Linked DNA regions of Homo sapiens: all the other regions are linked to region 3. Evidence: promoter capture Hi-C in 16 types of primary human blood cells and fetal thymus (Javierre and others, 2016). All regions are on one chromosome and are shown on one strand. The core of a region is centred on a gene start or on the middle of the fragment in contact, and the rest is flanking DNA. Distances in the headings are between cores, read along the strand shown.

The links. The method cuts DNA at HindIII sites, captures the fragments that hold promoters and counts their contacts. A CHiCAGO score of 5 or more calls a contact.
Region 1: a fragment that was not itself captured here is called in contact with the fragment with the promoter of SORL1 in region 3 in 2 of 17 cell types (non-activated CD4 T cells and activated CD4 T cells); the score reaches 7.5 in non-activated CD4 T cells.
Region 2: a fragment that was not itself captured here is called in contact with the fragment with the promoter of SORL1 in region 3 in 2 of 17 cell types (non-activated CD4 T cells and activated CD4 T cells); the score reaches 5.5 in non-activated CD4 T cells.
Region 4: a fragment that was not itself captured here is called in contact with the fragment with the promoter of SORL1 in region 3 in 1 of 17 cell types (non-activated CD4 T cells); the score reaches 5.2 in non-activated CD4 T cells.
Region 5: a fragment that was not itself captured here is called in contact with the fragment with the promoter of SORL1 in region 3 in 2 of 17 cell types (activated CD4 T cells and non-activated CD4 T cells); the score reaches 7.7 in activated CD4 T cells.

What each region holds. Positions count from the first base shown.
Region 1 is chr11:123,085,730-123,088,429 of GRCh38, reverse strand. All of the region lies in intron 2 of CLMP (CXADR like cell adhesion molecule), which reads left to right. Among named protein-coding and RNA genes, the nearest start is that of HSPA8, 25 kb to the right of the region's middle. The HindIII fragment of the contact is 2,767 bases long and covers 48-2,700 here.
Region 2 is chr11:123,102,122-123,104,821 of GRCh38, reverse strand. All of the region lies in intron 1 of CLMP (CXADR like cell adhesion molecule), which reads left to right. Among named protein-coding and RNA genes, the nearest start is that of HSPA8, 41 kb to the right of the region's middle. The HindIII fragment of the contact is 532 bases long and covers 1,090-1,621 here.
Region 3 is chr11:121,450,901-121,453,600 of GRCh38, reverse strand. It overlaps SORL1 (sortilin related receptor 1), which reads right to left and starts at 1,287. Exons shown (of 48, transcript NM_003105.6): 1 at 985-1,287. The coding sequence starts at 1,269. SORL1-AS1 (SORL1 antisense RNA 1) reads left to right here and starts at 634. Exons shown (of 3, transcript NR_183636.1): 1 at 634-926. RefSeq lists enhancers at 451-500, 521-590, 631-680, 691-880, 2,271-2,330 and silencers at 1,171-1,220, 1,351-1,400. The HindIII fragment of the contact is 8,160 bases long and covers 531-2,700 here.
Region 4 is chr11:122,718,973-122,721,672 of GRCh38, reverse strand. All of the region lies in intron 1 of UBASH3B (ubiquitin associated and SH3 domain containing B), which reads right to left. Among named protein-coding and RNA genes, the nearest start is that of UBASH3B, 65 kb to the right of the region's middle. The HindIII fragment of the contact is 2,244 bases long and covers 187-2,430 here.
Region 5 is chr11:122,736,690-122,739,389 of GRCh38, reverse strand. The region is part of intron 1 of UBASH3B (ubiquitin associated and SH3 domain containing B); the gene reads right to left. Among named protein-coding and RNA genes, the nearest start is that of UBASH3B, 82 kb to the right of the region's middle. The HindIII fragment of the contact is 3,376 bases long and covers 1-2,700 here.

The DNA.
Region 1 (2,700 bases), core at 182-2,681, 1.6 Mb before region 3:
GAAAGAAAGAGAAACATTAACAGAGCACCTAGTAAGTGTTCCAAGCTTACCTGCCTTATCTCCAGGTGTAAGGCCCCCTTACTTTCAGTCTTTGAATGGAGACAAACTCTACAGCTTCCAGTTTTTTCCTGTTGTGAACGCATTTCCTTCTTTTCCAACTATCCCAGCAATTTTGCATTACTAAGTCAGCTCTATCACCTGCCAAGAAACCTACCCTTCCAGCTGGGCATGGTGGCTCACACCTGTAATCCCAGCACTTTGGGAGGCCGAGGCGGGCAGATCACCTGAAGTCAGGAGTTCGAGACCAGCCTGACCAACGTGGAGAAACCCCATCTCTTCTAAAAATACAAAATTAGCTGGGCCTGGTGGCACATGCCTGTAATCCCAGCTACTCAGGAGGCTGAGGCAGGAGAATCACTTGAACCCGGGAGGCGGAGGTTGTGGTGAGCCAAGATCATGCCATTGCACCCCAGCCTGGGCAAAAAGAGTGAAACTCCGTCTCAAAGAAAAAAAAAAAAGAAACAAAACGAAACCTACCCTACAGAGTACAACAGGATGTGGGGCCAACAACACCCTACAAACATTTTTCTGTTTTGTTTTGTCTTGTTTTGAGGCAGAGTCTCACTCTGTCCCTAGGCTGGAGTGCAGTGGCATGATCTTGGCTCACTGGAACCTCTGCCTCCTGGGTTCCAGCGATTCTTCTGCCTCAGCCTCTTTAGTAGCTGGGACTACAGGCATATGCCACCACACCCAGCTAATTTTTGTATTTTTAGTAGAGACAGGGTTTCACCATATTGGCCAGGATGGTCTCGATCTCTTGACCTCGTGATCCACCCGCCTCGGCATCCCAAAGTACTGGGATTACAGGCATGAGCCACTGCACCGAGCCGCAAATATTTATTTATTTCATTTTATTTTTTTGAGACAGAATCTTGTTATGTTGCCCAGGCTGGAGTGCAGTGGCATAATCTCCACTCACTGCAATCTCTGCCTCCCAGGTTCAAGTGATTCTGCTGCCTCAGCCTCCTGAGTAGCTGGGTTTACAGGCGCACACCACCACACCTAGTTTTTTCTTTCTTTCTTTTTTTTTTTGAGACGGAGTTTCGCTCTTGTTGCTCAGACTGCAGTGCAATGCCGTGATCTTGGCTCATTGCAACCTCCGCCTCCCGGGTTCAAGCAATTCTCCTGCCTCAGCCTCCCGAGTAGCTGGGATTATAGGCATGCGCCATCACGCCCGGCTAATTTTGTATTTTTAGTAGAGACGGGGTTTCACCATGTTGGTCAGGCTGGTCTTGAACTCCCAACCTCAGGTGATCTGCCCACCTCGGCCTCCCAAAGGACTGGGATTATAGGCGTGAGCCACCACGTCAGGCCACCTGTCTAATTTTTGTATTTTTTAGTAGAGACAGGGTTTCACCATGTTGGCCAGGCTGGTCTCAAACTCCTGACTTCAAGTGATCTGCTTGCCTTGGCGTCCCAAAATGCTGGGATTACAGTTGTGAGCCACCGCACCCAGTTACATTTTTTTCTTTTTTTAAATTTTATTTGTTGAGACAGGGTCTCACTCTGTCACCCAGGCTGGAGTACAGTGGCGCAGTCTTGGCTCACTATAGCCTCAACCTCCTGGGCTCAAGCAAACCACCAGCCTTGGTCTCCCAAAGTGCTTGGATTACAGGCGTGAACCACCACGCATCTGGCCCCCACAAATATTTAGAACAAACAAGTACCACATCCAGGAGAAGGGCTGTGATCCTAGCTCTTCCCCATCTGTGCCTAAAGCAGAGGGCTTTCCCTTGAGTGCTAGGAACCCCATGGAATTATCTGCAAAATAATATGTGAGTTTTTTCTGGGTCAGAGTTCATAGGTTTTATCTGATTGAGAGAACCTTCTCAGGAAAGGCTCTGAAGAGCTGTGGAGCAACACGTGATCAAAGGCAGGGTTGAGGGCTTGAGTGAAACAATTTGGAACAGCTGCAGCTGAAATGTGCCTGGGAGATGCCCATATGCTTGCATGCCTTTTTTAGTGCCCTTCTGTGTAGCTGGAATGCTCCCTCCAGGCCTTTTCTCCTTGCCTCTCAAAGCCTAGCTCAAATGCCACCAACTTGTCTGGGACACTCTCCTTGATACTATTTCAAATAAATCATTTCTTTTTCTCTGTTTAATAGTCTTTCCTTGTTAATCTCACTTGATTATAAATCACTTGAACCAAAGAAGAGATTTGCCAGGCGCAGTGGCTCACACCTGTAATCCCAGCACTTTGGGAAGCCGAGGAGGGTGGATCACCTGAGGTCAGGACTTTGAGACCAGCCTGGCCAGAATGGTGAAACCCCATCTCTACTAAAATAAAAAATTAGGGCCAGGCGCAGTGGCTCACACCTGTAATCCCAGCACTTTGGGAGGCTGAGGCAGGCAGATCATCTGAGGTCAGGAGTTCAAGACCAGCCTGGCCAACATGGAGAAACCCCAGCTCTACTAAAAATACAAAAATGAGCGAGTCATGGTGGCATGCATCTGTAATCCCAGCTACTCAGGAGACTGAGGCAGAAGAATTGCTTGAACCCAGGAGACAGAGGTTGCAGTGAGCCAGGATCGCACCATTGTACTCCAGACCGGGCGACAAGAGTGAGACTCTATCTCAAAAAAAAAACAAAAAAAAAAAAACATAAAAAATTAGTTCGGCTTAGTGAAATAGGGCAAAGGA
Region 2 (2,700 bases), core at 106-2,605, 1.7 Mb before region 3:
GATGAATCTTCCAGTGCCCACGCAATCCAAGGCTAGCCACAGGATGGTCAGACTGCCCCTTTCCTCTCACCCATCAGATGGCAGACAAGCTCAGCAGCCCCCATGAGCACTGCTAAGCCTTGGAGTTAAAGACAGAGGCCGGACGCGGTGGCTCACACCTGTAATCCCAGCACTTTGGGAGGCTGAGGCGGGTGGATCATAAGGGGTCAGGAATTCGAGACGAGCCTGGCCAACATGGTGAAACCCCGTCTCTACTAAAGATACAAAAAATTAGCTGAGCATGGTGGCGCCTGCCTGTAATCCCAGCTACTTGAAAGGCTGAGGCAGGAGAATCGTTTGAACCTGGGAGGCGGAGGTTACAGCGAGCTGAGATGACGCCATTGCATTCCAGCCTGAGCAACAGGGCGAGACTCCGTCTGGGGAAAAAAAAAATAGAACCCAGGACCGGGCGCGGTGGCTCATGCCTGTAATCCTAGACTTTGGGAGGCTGAGGCGGGCAGATCACTTGAGGCCAGGAGTTTGAGACCAGCCTGGTCAACATGGAGAAACCCCATCTCTACTAAAAAAAATAGCTCGGTGGGTGGTGCAACCCTGTAATCCCAGTTACTCATGAACCCGAGATCACAGCACTGCACTCCAGCCTGGGCTACAGAGGGAGAATCTGGATTAAAAAAAAAAAAAAAAAAAAAAAAAGCCAGGCATGGTGGCTCAGGCCTGTAATCCCAGCACTTTGGGAGGCCGAGGCGGGCTGATCACCTGAGGTCAGGAGTTTGAAACCAGCTTGGCCAACGCAGTGAAATCCCGTCTCTACTAAAAATACAAAAATTAGCCAGGCATGGTGGTGCATGCCTGTAATCCCCGCTACTCAGGAGGCTGAGGCACAACAATCACTTTAACCTGGGAGGCAGAGGTTGCAGTGAGCCGAGATTGCGCGACTGCACTCTAGCCTGGGCAACAGAGTGACACTCTGTCTCAAAAAAAAAAAAAAAGAGACAGAACCCAGGCCCCTCTCTGCTTAGGTGGGTTTAAAAAAGAAAAGAAAAAAAAGTACAGAAGACCCTTTGAGCAATGTAAAAAAATGTAAAAGCTTTAATGTAAAAAAAAAGAAAGAAAGAAAGAAAAAAAAAGGGACAGAAGGAGAAGGACCTTAGAAATCTGTAGAAATCTCAGTGGCCTCCTGGAGTCTAACGAACTGAAGTTCAAGGAAGACTAGAAGTGTATGCGCCCTGATCTCATGGCTCCCTGCCTTGATGAAGCCATTTGTATTCACAGAGGGGCTCCTCCCTGCACTGCTGTATTTAATTCTGGATATGGTATAAATAGGACTTGGCTGACTGTCAAAGCACACCACCCGCCACAATGTTCCAGTTTTTTGGGGACATCAGACGAATCTGAGCCTTTGATTCCCTCTAGTGGCTTAAATTGGCAACTTTCATAGCTGGCTCTTGGCATTTGTTATTGAATGTTTAAGTATCTATTGTATGCACTAAATTGGTGCTGGGTTCTCTAGCTCTGCCTGGAATGTAGGGCACTGGTTTCATTTGAGCATTTTTGTGTCCGGTGGAAAGTGATCAGGGTTAAGCCAGAGCTCCTTCTTACAAAGCTCCTTCTTAACAAAGCTTAGCTTAGTACAGTGCAAACCAGTGAATTTCCCAGCTATTCTAAAGCTGCTTTATAGTAATTCTGGGAGGATGGGTTATTATATGGGTTATTTCTGCCGCTAAATGAGTTGTAGGACCTTGGGCTGTCTCTTTTACCCCTGGGTCTTAGTTTGCTCATTGGTAAAAATGAGCGTGTGGGTTACACTCAGATAAATTCAACAAATATTAATTGAACACCTGCAGTGTGAGACCCTGGGCTGAGTACTATGAGAAGGCAGCAATGAATGGTACTTGATGTCAAAGAGCTTACAGGATAATGGGAGAACCAGACATCCTGGAAGCCACATAAAATTGGGCAGGAGGAGGCTGGGCGTGGTAGCTCACACCTGTAATTCCAGCACTTTGGGAGGCTGAGGCGGGTGGATCACTTGAGGCCAAGAGTTCGAGACCAGCCTGACCAACATGGTGAAATCCTGTCTCTACTAAAAATACAAAAAAAAAAAAAAAAAAAAAGCTACTCGGGAGGCTGAGGCAGGAGAATCACTGGAACCTGGGAGGCGGAGGTTGCAGTGAGAGGAGATCGAGCCACTGCACTCCAGCCTGGGTGACAGAGCAAGACTATCTCAAAAAAAAAAAAAACCTGGCTGGGCACGGTGGCTGTCACCTGTAATCCCATCACTTTGGGAGGCCGAGGTGGGCGGATCACGAGGTCAGGAGATTGAGACCATCTTGGCCAACGTGGTGAAACCCTGTCTCTACTAAAAATACAAAAATTAGCTGGGTGTGGTGGCACATGCCTGTAGTCCCAGCTACTCAGGAGGCTGAGGCAGGAGAATCACTTGAACCGGGGAGTCGGAGGTTGCACTGAGCCAAGATTGTGCCACTGCACTCCAGCCTGGCGACAGAGAGACACTCCATCTCAAAAAAAAAAAAAAAAAAAACCTGGAAAGATAGCTCAAAGGGCCAATCTTAGGTTCTACAATAGTGTTATTTGCAGGAATAACTAGGGAAGTTGCATATCTTATTTTTTTTTTTTAGAGACAGGGTCTTACTCTGTCACCCATGCTGGAGTGCAGTGGTGCAATCATGGCTCACAACA
Region 3 (2,700 bases), core at 38-2,537:
TACTTCAAAAGGAACAATTTGACTCTAGAAAACAAGTGTATTTACCCCCTCCTCTGGTCCTACTTTTTCTCCCCCACCGACCTTATACTTTTGCTGATGTCAATCTTAACTGCAGGACTGGGAGTCTCATGAGGCAATAACACGGTCAAATTAATTTTGCCAGTGCTGATCCTAACCTACAAACTCCATCTGCAATTCCTCGCAGTAAGTCTGACCATAAAAGTGAAATTCACGTTACTTATGATCTAATAAACCTATTGCCTGGGTAGAAATAAATCACTTATAGAATAATAATGCCCACCAAATTTCCTGCAGTCCTTTCAAATCTCCAAGTGCCATGAGGGGTATTCCTCTCCAAAATAAAGTTATCTTGACGGGGGTGGGAGAGTCAGCATCTTGAAGGGTGGGGAAGAAGGAATGGAGAGCATCTCACACGCTCGCCAAAAATTAAAAATTAAAAATTCAGCCTTTACACACGCACACACATACACACACCTCTTGTCTGACTGTACAGAGATAGTCGACAAGCTTTCAGGTTTGCCCACTTTTATTGTGCTAATAATGCTAAGTGTGGAAACCCCCACCTCGTGCTGTTCTGTGTAAGTGTACCGCAACTGCAGGGTGCTCGCCTCCACTGCCAACTGATGATACACTAAAGAAAGCCCGTTTTTTATCCAGATGTAAAATGAAGCTGCACCCCTCCTATACCTGCCGGAAACTACATCTCTCTGCACACACCCTGGGGTAATACGCACTGCACCCGGCGAGTTACCTGGAATACGTTTACTAAATCGACAGGAAGAAGGAAAGATCAATGCGATTCAAGTGCTGACGGTTGTACTCGTGAAGGAAAAAAACAAATGCAAGCCGGGAAGTCCCCAGTGGTGCCTGCACCTAGGAGGCGACTGCAACGGATGGATGCGGGGGTGAGGAAGTGCAGGGAGAGGAAAAAACTGGAGGGAGGCGGGTTGCAAAACTGCTCACCTGTCCGTACACCTTGATGGGCTCGGGCTGCAGGGCAGCGCTCCGTTTCCTCCGGAGCGGCTTCTCGTCCGCGCGGCTCGCCCCCCTGGCATCCCCGCGCGCCCACAGCCGCAGCTCGCGCGGGTCGCCCTGCACCACGAGGAAGCCCCGGTCCTGGGGCAAGGGCGCGCTGCCGCCGTGCAGCCTCTGCGTCCAGACTTCGCAGAGAGCTCCGGGCGGCAGCAGTGCGACCAGGGTGAATAGGAACGGGAGTCGCGACTCCCTCCTGCTGCTCCGTGTCGCCATGTTCGGGCGAACGCTACTGCAGGTGGCGCCGCCGCCAGGAGAGAATGTGCAGCGCGAGGCCAGGAGAGCCGCTGGGCCGGGACCGCGCGCGCCGCTCCCGGGGCTCCAGGCCGCCCGCGCCGCTCCGGGCCGCCCCGCTGCGCCCGCCGCCGCTGCCGCCAGGTCCCGCTCGGTTCGGCGCGGCGCCGTCACGTGTGAGGCTCGCAGCGCGTCCCTTTCGCGCACTTTCTGCGCTCGGCGGCCTCGGCGGCGACTCCGGCCCCTCCCTGGCGCGGGGATGGGGAAGTTAAGGCAGCGAGCGCCGGTGGGGGTGCGTCCCTTCCCTGGCGGGCACACCTCCTTGTTCTCCCTGCAGGAATGAAGAGTTGCATGGGGCTCGCTCGTTTTCTCTGGAGTTAGTTGCGTCCTATACAGGGTCGTGTCGAGGTCGTCCTAAACCGTGGCCACTTTCCTGAGTGCACAGCCCGCAGTAGCGCCACAAGACCACCTCCCCCCGGCCCCGGCCTCATCCCCACCTCCAGGGAAGAGTCCAGAGCCACAGAATTAGCTCCTAGAACGCAACCAACAAGAGTCCAGATGAACCCGCTCTATTGGGAAACTCACAGTTTTTCATCTACTCTGGGCACCACAACGTATTTGCAGGGGCCACAGCAAAAACTACCCTTGATCAAGCTACGTGCCCCAGCCTGAAGCACAGCAAATAAACATCCTGCACAGAGGCAGTAAAAACAAGGGTACATCTGACAAAGAATGCACCACACCTGGACAATTATTACACAGCTATACAGGGTGTGCTTGCACGCACGCATGAATACCTGTGCGTGGCACAGGGCCCCAGCGGCGGCTTGCTTATGATCCCTCCAAGGTGACCAAGCACTGAGCCACCCTGCCTCAGCAGTAAAATAGACATATTTACCAGTCCCTTCAACCCACAGCCAGGAGCTAGGCAAACACCCACAGAGGAGGGAGGACACACTTTAACCCTACATTCAGCTTGACGAGCCAAACTCTCTGAACCACAGGAGATAAAACTTCTGCCATGGAACTGCTAAGGTACGCCCAAGGAAAATATTTTTTTTGCAGGTTAGTGGGAGCAGCCAAAGTCTATGTACTACTGCAACCTTTCCTATTTCATTTTATGTTTCACTGCCCTCTGAACTCAGATCCTGGTTTTTGATAAGAATAAAGACACAGCAAGCAGGGCTGAAAGGGAGACTACCTTTATAGTTGCATACAAGCTGCTGTTCAGGGGAAGGAAGGGATGGTCAGTTCAATTTTCTAAAAACATTCCTCATCTCCGACAAGCCACGGTAGCCCGATTCCTACCCCGGCCCACTCTAGTACTTTTCAGGTAGCTTAGCAAAGCCCCCTCCTCTACCTAGGACTACCACTGACAACCTGCCAGAGTCAGGCCAGCTTGCCTCATCTCCC
Region 4 (2,700 bases), core at 59-2,558, 1.3 Mb before region 3:
CCTCCCACCCACGCACCACTGGAAATAACTTTAAATAATGCATCTGAGAATGTCTGCAGAACAGGCAGTCTGGATTAAGGACTTTTAAAGGGATGGTGTTTGAACAAGGATTCTTTCAGGGAAACCATCTTGAGAATTACTGAACTCTCAGGCAAGCTCACTCTGACAAATATCCTTAAGCAAGCTTTGAGCTAGAGCTGAAATCCTGGTGTGGTAAATATCATCATACGGGAAAGCAATTTATAGCAAAAAAGATTTAGTGGTCCTCCCAGCCACCACATTCCCACTCCCACCCCCCCGTAGTGCTGTGGAAGATTTGCTTACTCTAAGTGAACAGAATTCCATAAAGAGCTTGGCTGGTCAGTCAGCATCTGTTGTAGAAACTGACCTAGAGTCATTCATTCTTTTTTTTTTTTTTTTTTTTTTTTGAGACACAGTCTTGCTCTGTTGCCCAGACTGGAGTGCAGTGCCGCGATCTTGGCTCACTGCAAACCTCCACCACCGGGTTCAAGCGATTCTCCTGACTCAGCCTCCAGAGTAGCTGGGACTACAGGCACACGCCACCACGCCTGGCTAATTTTTTGTATTTTTGGTAGAGACGGGGTTTCACCGTGTGAGCCGGGATGGTCTCCATCTCCTGACCTTGTGATCTGCCCACCTCGGCCTCCCAAAGTGCTGGGATTACAGGCGTGAGCCACCGCGCCTGGCCGAGTCATTCATTCTTTTAACATCTACTATGTGTCAGACATTTTTCTAGCCTTGGGGATATAGCAGAGAAAAAAAAAATACAAAGATTTTTGACCTCATGCAGTTTATATTCTAGGGGAGAGGACAGTTATAGTAAGCGTTTTGGAAAAAATAAGGCAGGGAAGGGTGGGAAGGGATTCCTATTTTGCATGGAAAGATTAGATAAAGGTAATGAATGAGTCAGGGAGGGAGAGCTCTGTGGATAGCTGTGTGAAGAGCCTTCCTGGAAGAGCAAGCACAAAGGCCCCAGGCAATGGCGTGTGTAGTGTATTCAAGGAACAAAGAATAGACCATGTGGCTTCAGCTGAATGGGCAAGGAGGTACATGCTAGGAAACAGATTCAGAGAGGTAGCAAGGGAACACCCTAGAGACAGGAAGGCTTTAGATTTAACTTTGTAACACAGAGAACGTTGGGGCATTTTGAGCAGTGGAGTGATTCCATCTGCCTTACACTTTGAAAGGATCTCCAACTATTCTGATGAGAAGAGACTACAAGAAAGCAAAAGCCAAAACAGGGAGACCAGTTTGGAGGCAATTGCAATAATACAAGCAAGAGAGAATGCCAGGGATTTGGATCTGTGGAAGCGGCGAAGCTGACAGATTCACTGATGGACTGGATGGAAAAAGTGAGGCGCTAAGGGTGACTCCAAGGCATTAGAATGAACATCTGGAAGAAAGAGTTATCCTGCTTGGAGATGACAAGACTGTGGGAGGACCCATGTTTGAGATGCCTATTTGACATCCATAGGAGATGCTGAGTACGGAGTCTGGAAAATGGGAGAGAGGACTGGGTGGGGGATGTAAGTGCAGGAGTTGTCAGCATATGGATAGTACATAAAGCCAGGAGTTTGGAGACTACTATGGGGGTGAGTTTAGACAAAGGAGAGAAGGGGTCCATGGTTTTCAGCTGAGGGCTCTCCAATATTTACAGGTGAGGAGATGAGGAAGCCAGCCAAGGAGTTGGAGCAGAAGCAGGCACTGCAGTAGGAGGACTAAGAGAGAAGAAACTCCTAGAAGCCAAGGGTCTTTAAGGAAGCATCGAGAGAGGACTGATCGCCTGCATCCAATGCTGCTGATGGAGGATGGAATTGCTCACAATATATGGCACTACTGTGGCCATTAGTGACCTTGATGACAGCAGCTTTGGGGGGCAGTGTGACAGAAGCCTGATTGAAATAAGTTTAAGAGAAAAGAGGAGGATAGGAAGTGGAAACAGCCAGTAGAGACAACTTGTTTGGGAAGTGTTACTGTTCAAGAATCTGATTTAACACTTTAGGTTTTGCAAGAAGAGAAACAGATGAAATGATCTTTCCAGCTACTAAGGCTGATTATTACTACCTTTGCTGGGAGGCTCCTTGACCTATGTGATGGGATACATAGATGCCTGGTTCTGATGAACTCATGATGTGAACCACAGGTTTTTCCCTCTCAGAGACTTATTTTAAGGAGGACGAAGGGGAAAAGACAAGGAGAGAGTAATGAAAGAAAGGGACAAGAAAAATGGTAAGAAAGACTTTTAAAGAGTTTCAAGCCATGTTAAGTTTCCTAAACCATTTCTTTTCCATTGCAAACATCACTAACATAACTCCCAAATTTCCTGGTTAAATTTAGCACAGATGTAAAATTTTGAGCACTGGTGGACATGGGTATCTAAACCAATCATCTGATGAGGAAATTGAAGCTTAGAGAAGGGAATTGACTTCCGGGCACTCCCAATTATTAGCCGCGTGGTCTTAGACAAGTTACTTTTAACCTCAGCGTGTTAGTTAATCCATCTGTAAATTGGCAGTGTAAGAATACCCATCACCAATCTAACGTAATCATGCTTAGATTGTTCGAACAGCAGCTATCACATGGTAATACTCAGTAAGTGTTTTTTATTTATTTTTGAGAGACGGTCTCAATCTGTCGCCCAGGCTGGAGTGCAGTGGATCAATCATGGCTCACTGCAGC
Region 5 (2,700 bases), core at 11-2,510, 1.3 Mb before region 3:
AAGTGACCTAGCCAAGGTTAAATGCTTACAAGTGATTTTTTTGCTCTCTATTAAAATTCCTCCCCCAGCCACACACTGTGGACAGCTCTTTTCTAAATCTTCCTCCTCTATAATCCATACTTCTCTCTATTGTTAGAATAATTTTTCTAAAACAGGTTGAGTTAAACTTTCCACTCCTCAGTCTGGGCATCGTAGTGAGACCCTGTCTCTACAAAAAATTTACAAATTACCCGGGTGTGGTGGCACATGCTGTAGTCTCAGCTACTCAGGAGGCTGAGGCAGGAGGATCCCTGAGCCCTGTAATTTGAGGCTGCAGTAAGCCGTGATCGTGCCACCACACTCCAGCCTGAGCAACAGAGTGGGACCTTGTCTCAAAAACAAAACAAAGCAGAACAAAACAAACCCTTCCACTCCTGTACAACTGTCCATGGCTCCCTTATATCCACACAAAGCAAAATTCAAATATTCAAATTCATAAACGTAACTTTTTTTTTTTTTTTTTGAGACAGAGTTTCACTCTTGTTGCCCAGGCTGGGGTGCAATGGTGTGATCTCGGCTCACCACAACCTCCTCCTCCTGAGTTCAAGCAATTCTTCTGCCTCAGCCTCCCAAGTAGCTGTGATTACAGGCATGCACCACCACGCCCAGCTAATTTTGTATTTTTGTAGAGACGGGGTTTCTCCATGTTGGTCAGGCTGGTCTCGAACTCCTGACTTCAGGTGATCTGCCCACCTCAGCCTCACAAAGTGCTAGGATTACAGGCGTGAGCCACTGTGCCTGGATGAATGTAACATTCTTTACAGGCTCAACTCCCACCGTAGCTCTTCCTGCCTCTTCCTGACCATTGCACTTGACCACATCTGTTGTCATGCTGTGTAACCCCATGGCTCAGGCTTCTTGCCATGCCTGTCCTTCTGTGTTGCTTTACTTTATTCCCACTGAAAGCCTGTCTTCTCCTCTGTCTTCTATCTCTTCCTCCCTGGAACTGCTTCTTTGCATTTAAACAGCCTCTCTCAAGTGCTCAATTGCACTTTCCCCTTCAGCTAAAAGTCACTCTAATTTGGCACTTCCCCACTAACAAAGTCCCTAATAGTTATTCATGCCATTGAATAATAATGGCTAAGATTTACTGCACATGTATTAAGACACCAATCTAAATACAATGCAATCGTTCCAACTTATGGATGAGGCTCAGTGTAAATAACTGGTCTAAGGTCACTTAGTAAGTAACAGTGAGAATCTGAGTCACCACACTCTATTCAATGGGATTTTTGTCTCTTGACCTCTCAACGGCATTTCCCATTAGGAGCCCTCCCTTTGTTCTCTACTTTTACTTTCCTGATTATGCCCCTTTGGTTTGTCTTTTGCCCTTTTCTCTAGTGGCTTATTCTCAGTTTCCTTTGTAAACTCTGACTTCTCTACAGGCACTTTAATTGCTAGTATTCCTCAGGAATCTGTCCAGTCTTTCTCCATACATTCTACTCATTCTCTCCGGGTAATCCCAGCTCTTCCCTGGGCCATACCTCCAGCTTCTACATGCTAAGGATGCCCTTAGTCTCCAGGTCCCTCCAGTTTCTCCTGCTCAACCCTCTGGCGTCCTGACCTATTCCTTACTAGAAATCTCCACTTGAATATCTTGCTTGCACTAAACCTCATGTGTTCAAAAAGTGAACTCACCTTTTTCCCCGCCAATTTTGCTTCTCTCCAGAGTCTCTTGGCTCAGGGCAGAGCATCCATGCAATTTCCCAAGTTTCATTCATGCAGAATGAAAAAAAAAAGGGCTAGGGGAACACAGAGAGAATGCTGGGAGAATTCAGGAGTTTATGTAGAAGGTGGGGCTTTAGCGACGCTCCTCATTCTTACTGAGCATCTACCTCACGGCCTGTACTACACTTAGCACTGAGATCAACAGGCTAAGATCCACCTAAGATCCATCCTTGACTTCTCTCTTTCTCTCACCTCTCCTATCTAATTCATCATTAGGTCCTGTCCATGTGTGCCTCCTAAATTTCTTGGACACTGGTTCTTTTTTATCCCTTGTTTTCTCTCTGTGTTAAGCCCCATCACCCCTCGCTTTGACAACTCCGGCAGCTTTAACAAATCTCCTGCTTCCGGTTTTGCCCTTTCCAATTTATTCTCCAAATATACAATGATAATCATACACTCTTCTTCTTAAAACAACCCAGTAGCTCCCTATTTCCTCTAGGGTAAAGTTCCAGAACCTTAACATGGCTAATTTGCCTGTATGCTCTATTTTCTGGCCCTTCCCTGGTTTACTTTAGGCTACCCTCTTCCGGCAACATTAGATTTCTTTCAGTTCCTTGAACGTGCCACATTTTCTCACAGCTGAGCAGTGGGCATGCATTCTTTCTTCAGGAACATTCTTTCCCTTCCCTACAGTAATATCTCTGCCCACCTCTCAATCTTAGCTTAAATCTTCTATGTTGCTTTCCTTGATCCTTTATTTCCTTTCATTTCTTCATTTCATTCCATTTCATTTCATTTTGAGAGAGGGTCTCACTATGTTGCCCAAGCTGGACTGAAACTCCTGGGCTCAAGCGATCCTCTCTCCTCAGCCTCCCAAGTAGCTGAGATTGCGGGTGTGAACCACCACGCCTGGCTTCCCGATCCTTAAATCTCCCAGTTACACATTCTCATGACACCCTGCATTTCTTTCCCAGCATGCATTCTGCTTGTAGT